2 separate regions of the Homo sapiens genome follow, and region 2 is linked to region 1. Evidence: promoter capture Hi-C in human tissues and cell types (Jung and others, 2019). All regions are on one chromosome and are shown on one strand. The core of a region is centred on a gene start or on the middle of the fragment in contact, and the rest is flanking DNA. Distances in the headings are between cores, read along the strand shown.

Region 1 (3,788 bases), core at 541-3,040:
TCTTTCAACCACTTTTATTTCAAAGGATGAAGTAGAATCAGTGGAGCACAGGAGCAGAGAGAGGCAGGGACAAAACGACTTCCCTGTTATGACACAAATAATGACTGTTTTGTGCCTACAGTGACTGCTGTGGTAGACACTGCTAAACTATCCTAAGGGACTAAGTTATTCTATGTATGAAGGGTGTGGGGAACAGTGTTCCATTATCTCTAACACACTCATCTCTACTTTCCTGGAAAAAGAGGCACAATCAGGAGAGCAGGCAGGCCCAAAGTAGGCACAAAGTTACTGTCTGTGGCCTTGAACATAAGGACACCATCGTCTGTGTATCTGGAACATAAAAGAGGGCACCCCACGTGGAGGCCGGCGAAGAGCTGGGAATCCTGACAGGTTTGGAAAGAAACAAAGCCCCAGTCTGAAGCAAGCAAGCAAGCAAGGATGGATCCCCAGGCCAGCCATTTTACTGATACTATTTATATTTCCCTATCTTCTCGTGTCCTCCTTTAAAGTTGTTGGAATATCTTTTTTAAATGCTCACTTGCCTCAGCTATCAAGAGAGGAAGAAAGAGAAGGGATTTTTGTTTGTAAAAAACAAACCTGTTGTCCAGACATGTACAAGGGTAGAAGCAGAATAATCAACGTGGGAGAACCCCAAAGAAGTGCCCAATAGGGTTGAGGCCACTTAGTCAGCTGCCCTTTTTTACCAAGATTCTCTTTCCACTGATAAAAGTGTAGACACTCTCCCTGCACAATGATACTGATTCAACTGCATGGCAGGAGGAGAGTTGCACGGGATTACCAGACTGGTGTGTGCAAGCTGCAGTCATCCCAACACTCATGAGTAGGTTTCCATCACCTCCAGGCCCTCAAGCTGCACGAGGAAGACACCACGCTAAAGGGATACGTATTTACCACACCCACTGTAATCCACTTGTTGCGTCTCCAAGCAGCCTCACCTTTCATACACGCTGCGGACCACAGTAAAACCTAGCCATCTCCTCCTCCAAGACCTCCTGAAACTTTCCCCGTCGTTCCTGTGCCCACCTGCCTCCAGCCTCTCCGTCTGTGCAGAAACCAAATGGCCCCTGTGTGATAAACACAAAGCCACCCGCGGCTCTGTGTGGCAGAAGCGAAAAGAGCACTGGATGACCGTGGAGAGATCTGGGCTGCGTTCCCGGCACAGCCACGGCTTTGCTGCGCGTGCTTATGTCACGTACCTCCATTTACCCGCTTGCAAAAACGAAGGGGATGACTTACTTCGAAGGTCGCTGGCGGCTCCGCTGCGGGTTGAGCAGGGTGCCCCGAGCCACCCGCTGCACAGCCTCCCAGGTGGGCGTTTCTCTCAGACCCGCTTCGCCTGGGATGCCCGGGCCCTAGGGCGTTCCCACAGCCCGCTCCGGCCTGCCCAGGCGAGCGCGACCCACACCCACGGCCCGCGGGCGCAGCGCCCCCTGGCGGCCGCGGCCAGGGACGTAGCCCGCGTCCCTGCCCGCTCATCCCGATCCTACCTGCCTGTCTTCCAGCACACGACCCCGTCACCAGACCCCGGGCTCACAGGCCTAGGAGGCGGCGGCAGGAGACCAGGGGGAGGCCATACGCCGTTCCCCAAGTCTCCAGTGTCCCCCGAACTGCTCGCAGCCCTGGCCACATCCCGCCACGCCCCGAGGAAATGCAAAGGGGTGATCCCCGTGACAACCGAGCTGGAGGGCAGGGGTGCGGCAGCAGCCATCACCTACCTGCGCCCCTGCTCCAGGACAACCGCGCCAGCCGCTCAACCACGCTCCCGAGCATGAGCCCTGCAGCAAAACAAGCCTTTATAGCGGCATCGGCCGCCACACCGCGCAAGCGCGCTGCACAAAGCATTCCCAAGGCTGAAGGGAACTGTAGTCCTCCTTCCGAGTGCCCAGGGCTGCGGACGCGGCGAAGGACTACATTTCCCAGAAGCGCCGGTGACATCCCGGGGGCGGTGCGGGCTGCCCCTCTTCCCACCGAGCTCCCGGCTCTGTTCCATCCTTCCCCGTGCCTCTGCGAGACTGTCTGGAATCTTCTCAGGGGTCGTGTTCCCTGGGGGAGGCAGCCGGGAGGCTTAACCGTGGCCCTGTGTTCGCACACAGTGCTGTTCGTAGGCAGAGCAGTCCCACCCTGCGTGGCCGTGTAGCTGCCAGAAAAGATCGTGAAGGTCATCGTAGCCCGCGTCTAACCCGTTGAGAGTCGTCAGGCCGGCCAGCCCCAGTTCTTATCTGTTGTGGCAGATACGATTGCTTGCTCATGGTTCGACCCTGCAGTCTGCGCAGATACCGCCTTTCTCACTTTAACACCAACTGCCCATCAATGTCTCGCTGCCTGGTCTCTAGATAATAAAATGCCAGGATCACAGTCTTAGAAGTGGCAAGAGCCTTAGAAATGTTATGCTAACTCATCTTCTTCTTTTTATAAATGAAACTGAAGCTCCCAGAAAGATTGATCCCTTTATTTCTCTGTTTCATCGGTACCTTCAGCATCATTAAATAAAAGCCACTGTTGAGTTCTTCCCTACCTTGTATCCGATGCTTTACATACCATTCTTGTTTCCTTTAATCTCCATTACAGCCCTATGAGTAGGTATTATGAGTTTTTTTTTTTTTTTAAGGAGTCTGGCTCTGTTGCCCAGGCTGGAGTGCAATGGCGCGATCTCGGCTCACTGCAGCGTCCGCCTTCCGGGTTCAAGCAGTTCTCCTTGCCTCAGCCTCCCGAGTAGCTGGGATTACAGGCGTCCGCCACCACGCCCGGCTAATTTTCGTATTTTTTAAGTAGAGACAGGGTTTCGCCATATTGGCCAGGCTGGTCTCGAACTCCCGACCTCAGGTAATCCGCCCGCCTCGGCTTCCCAAAGTGCTGGGATTACAGGCGCGAGCCACCTCACCCCGCCGTATTTTTTTTTAATTCAAAGATTAAAAAAGAAGAAGAAGAAGAGGAAGAGGAAGAAGGAGAAGGTAAAGTGACTTGTCCATCTTTATAACAGCTAGCTAGTTAGCTAGTGTGAAGACACTACTGTATCGTAAAGCAGCATATTCTTGCGCACGGATTGATAGACCAATGCAATAGAATAAAGAGCCCCCAAACAGACTGGTGCATCCATGTAACTTGATCTGTGACAGAAAACCTTACGAATCCGTGGGGAAAGCAAGAAGAGTCAGTAAATAGTACTGGAACAATTGGTTATACATATGAAAAAACAATCAGGGATTACCGCTTCATACCACACAGAAAAAACCCATTTCAGGTAGATCAAACGCTTAAATGTGAAAGGGAAAACTTAAAAACTTTTAGAAGAAGATAGGAAATATCTTTATGAACTTGGGAGTAGGAAAGAACTTTTTAAACAAGAAACAAAGAATAAAGGAAGAAAGATTGATAATTTTTGCCATATTAAAAGATGGCATAAATTGAAAAGATAAACCACAAGTTATAACTGACAAAGTTTTTGAATAATAAATATTCAAAATAATTTCTAAGTTCAGTAAGAAACGGCAGATAACCCAATAGGAAAATAGGTAAATGACATGAACAGACAGCTCACAGAATAGGAAACTTGAGCAGCCACTCAAATATGAAAAGACACCCAATCTCATTCATAATCAGGGAAATTGATTTTTTTTTTTTTTTTTTTGAGACAGAGTCTTTCTCTGTCCCTCAGGTTGGAGTGCAGTGGTGCCACCTCAGCTCACTGCAACCTCCACCTCCAGAGTTCAAGTAATTCTCCTGCCTCAGCCTCTGGAGTAGCTGGGACTACAGACACCGGCCACCGC
Region 2 (3,546 bases), core at 182-2,681, 200 kb before region 1:
GAGCTTGTACCTCTAAGCTTTAAAAAGAGACGAAGACCCCTCAAACGTGTGAAGGCACCAGGCGTGACCCATGTGGCCATGCTGGCTGGAATTTACGGAGGAAGTTAGGAGAGAGCTTTGCAAAGAAAATGAACTGCCTCTTCAAAAGGTGGTGAGTTCCCCGTCACTGTACATGTGAGCAGGGTAGACGGAAGGGTTGGTGTAGAGGACATTTTAAGGTATTTCAGGGAATGAGACAAATGCCACCTTCCCAAAAACAGTTCCAGTTCTCAGCCAGTGTGTATGATAGTGCCCTGCTCATCATCCTTATGTTAGCGGGAAAATCATTAGTAACAAAATGTGGATTCAATCTTTAGAACCTAGCACAAGGTAAATGTGAGTCATTCAATCCCAAGAACTGTTTTGTTAAAACATGAGGCTCATCTTGGCCATAAGGAGGTCTGTGAAGTGGAAGCCCGTGACTGACGGTCTGTTTCTTCTGGAAATTTCCTCCTGGATACTCAGCATCACCATGAGTCATGCAGGTGACGGCCCAAGATTCCAACAGCTTCAACTGCAGGGGCCATTTGTAGGAAGAGCCAAGGGTCTCACTGTAGGTTATGAAATTAATCAAGTGCTCACGCATCCTGGGAAATCCACCAAAAGTGGACATAACTGGTTCTTTCAAGGGCCGGATGTGTCCACATTCCTCAGCTTCCATGGACCAATTCGGTTCCCAACTGACTTGATCCTCAGGCTCCTCAGAGATTTCAAAACTGAGAGACGGCCAGATGGCAGTTAACGAACGCAGGAGCCTTCCACAGGCTTCTCAAGAGGATGCTTGAGGCTGAGCTGGGTGTGCCAAGTCCATCGGTGCATCTGCTCCACACCAGCACTTTGGCCCTGGTGACAGCTTTGAGAGGGGCTGTGCCCTCCCGCAGGGGCCCATGCCATGCTCTCGCCCAGCCCCGCGGCAGTGGGTCCTGAGGCCGCTCCCCAGCCCTGTCCTGTCGGCAGCCATGGTGTCACGGTGCAGGCAGTCACACGTTGAGAATCCGGGGAGCTGAGGCCTGAAAGATGGCGGAGGGGTTAGGAGTGAACTTCTTCCTCACCTCTGGGACCTGAAAAATGAAGTGTGGCCACATATCAGTGGGACTTTTCCTTAACTCCCTACTCTTCCCCACTACCCAGCTCCAGGAAAAAATCCCCTCCCATCCTCTGCATCCTCCAGGAGTTGAGACCTGAAGGGTCAGAGGGGACTTGCCCACCGTGAGCCATAGGCGTCACTGCATTAGCAGCTGAGTGGTACACGGACCTTCCATTCTGCTCCCTGAACCACTTGGGAATCGGAGCTGAGATGCCCCCACTCCCTTCCATCGTCTCTTTCCTCTTACACAAATGCTGTGGTACTCAGGCCAGTCACTAGCGTTCAGTGGCCAAGGGTAAGATGGGGATTTAGGAGGCAGAGAGACCCTGCTCACCAGAGAGGCCAACGCTAGAGGGCCACCCAGCTGGCTACTGATGAGGAAGTACCTTGGGTTTTTGTTCGGGACATCTGGTTGGCACTGCTGTCCCTGGTCATAATTGCATTTTACACCATGAAAATCTGGCTCCTAATCCCTACCCGGGGAAAGAGGCCTCTATACCCACACCCCTGCTACACCAGCTTCCGGCTGACCTGGAAGCCGGCCCCAGGGCTGCTGTCCCATCCCGAAGTGTGGGTTGTGATGACTCGGGCTGGTTTTGTCTTTGTGGATCTTGAGGGCTTCACTCCAGTCCAAGCCTGGAATTCCTGTCTGGAACAGAGAACACGGTCACAAGCTTGCACAGGGTCAGCCACCCCTTTACCGACTCCCCAGGGGCTGCTGCTCTGCCCCATGCACGGCCCTGCCAATTGCTGAAACCCTCGGCTCCAGGCAGTCCTCATCATCTTCCCAAAGACAGAACTGGCAAGGCAAGTGCACTCCCGTGCAGGCCCAGCTCCAGGAGAAAGGTGTGTGGCTGCCTGGCCCCTCACCTCAGCGATCCACTGGGAAATCTGGGCTCACCCCGGTCCCTAAGGAAGTAGGAGAGGAAGCTTATTCTCACACTGCAGGCGAGCGGCAGGGTCAGGGCAGAGCTCAGTTAGCACCTGGGTCTCATTCAGAACGCAACAGCACCTGGCACTGCTGGGTCTTGGAGACGAGCAGCCCCGGTGCTATACCTGCACCCCCTGCGATTCTCCCACACCTGCCCCTCCAGAGCCAGGCTGCTTCAAGAGACCCAGGTCATGGTGACTGCTTATGCCTGAAGAGGAAATGCCCTCAGCACCGGGCACAGCCCTGGCTTGCCAGACCCGCTTAAGACTGAAAAGAAAAATAAGGCTCAGAACTTTTAGTTTTTTATACTTTGTCTCATTAACTCATGCAGAAGAATGGATCGCAGTGACCATCTCAAAAGACTCCAAGGTGGCCTGGCCTTTGCACAGCTCTGTGCATGGTGGAGGGAGTGGATCATGCGCTGTTGCTGAGCCTGTGGCGGGGAGGGTGGTGTGATGGGGGAAGGCGGGCCCTGGAGGGAGAGGATGAGGCTGGCACCGCTAGCTCCATGTACCGGGAGCAGCTTTCTCCATGAAAAGACAGTGCTTCCATTTCTCTGAACAAAAGGGACCTCCTTTAATTCTACCCACTCCTCTGCAAGATGGGGAGCTCAGAAGGCAGAAGTCCCTGTGTCCCAGGAGCACCTGGCCAAGGTGGAAGTGTCCAGCTAGCTGGGCCTGGCACCCACGTGTGCGGAGTTGCTCCTGCCCAGGCTGGACACTGCCGGGGTTGGGCTTCAGGCCCTGAGGTCAACAAAGCTGCCTTTCTCCTTGGCAGCTGCAAAGCTGGGGCACCACTGGGCAGGCTGCGTGGGCAGGGAATGGCTGTGTCCATGGCCAGCACTGGGGTGCCAGGAGGAGAGCTAGGCCGGGGCCCCGTCAGGTAATTTTCACTCCCGAAGCCGCGAGCTTCTGAAGACCAGCTGCCCAAACCATATGCTGCTCTGTTCCTCCTGCGGAAGCAGGTCCTCCCCTGGGCGCGCCCTTCTGTCCCCAAAACACTTCACATGCCCACGCTGAGCCTTGGGCCTGGCATCCTGAGCCCGCTGCCCTGAGGTGGCTGCAGGGGTCTCAGAGCAGGAAGCCACCAGAGCCACAGACGACAGCAATCCTGGCGGCCGCCAGAGGAGGAACCCGGGGCTGGAGCCCAGATGGGAGAGGGGACCTTAAAGATGGAATGGGCAGGACCCGGTGACTGCCTGGAGAGAAAGAAAACAGACTCATGGCTCAGGCCAAGATTAGTAAGAAATACAGGCCTCCCTGCCTGCTGTGCCCCCATACAGTGCTCAAGCATGTTCCGGCATCAGCCCCGGACAGAGGATTGGGAGGCCTGGGTTCTCAGCCCAACATGGCTTCAGACACATTCCTCAACTTCCCTGAGCCTCAGTTTCTTCTGAAAAGTGGGGCTGCTGACCCATGTGCCTGAGGCTGTTGTGAGTCTTCGTTTCGGGCACTCAGTAAAGTGGGGCCAAGTCTTGTGGAACTTGAAT

Evidence for each region. Contacts are between HindIII fragments. The study calls those that stand out against the background at their distance.
Region 2: a contact is called between a fragment that was not itself captured here and the fragment with the promoter of ABCC5 in region 1, in 1 of the 25 tissues and cell types used here (IMR-90 fibroblasts).

Annotation. Positions count from the first base shown.
Region 1 is chr3:184,016,094-184,019,881 of GRCh38, forward strand. It overlaps ABCC5 (ATP binding cassette subfamily C member 5), which reads right to left and starts at 1,791. Exons shown (of 30, transcript NM_005688.4): 1 at 1,737-1,791. RefSeq lists a silencer at 1,359-1,528 and an enhancer at 2,009-2,188. The HindIII fragment of the contact is 8,418 bases long and covers 1-3,788 here.
Region 2 is chr3:183,816,337-183,819,882 of GRCh38, forward strand. MAP6D1 (MAP6 domain containing 1) reads right to left here. Exons shown (of 3, transcript NM_024871.4): 2 at 1,658-1,775; 3 at 1-1,100. The coding sequence ends at 1,020. Among named protein-coding and RNA genes, the nearest start is that of MAP6D1, 7.5 kb to the right of the region's middle. RefSeq lists an enhancer at 1,285-1,896. The HindIII fragment of the contact is 6,103 bases long and covers 1-3,546 here.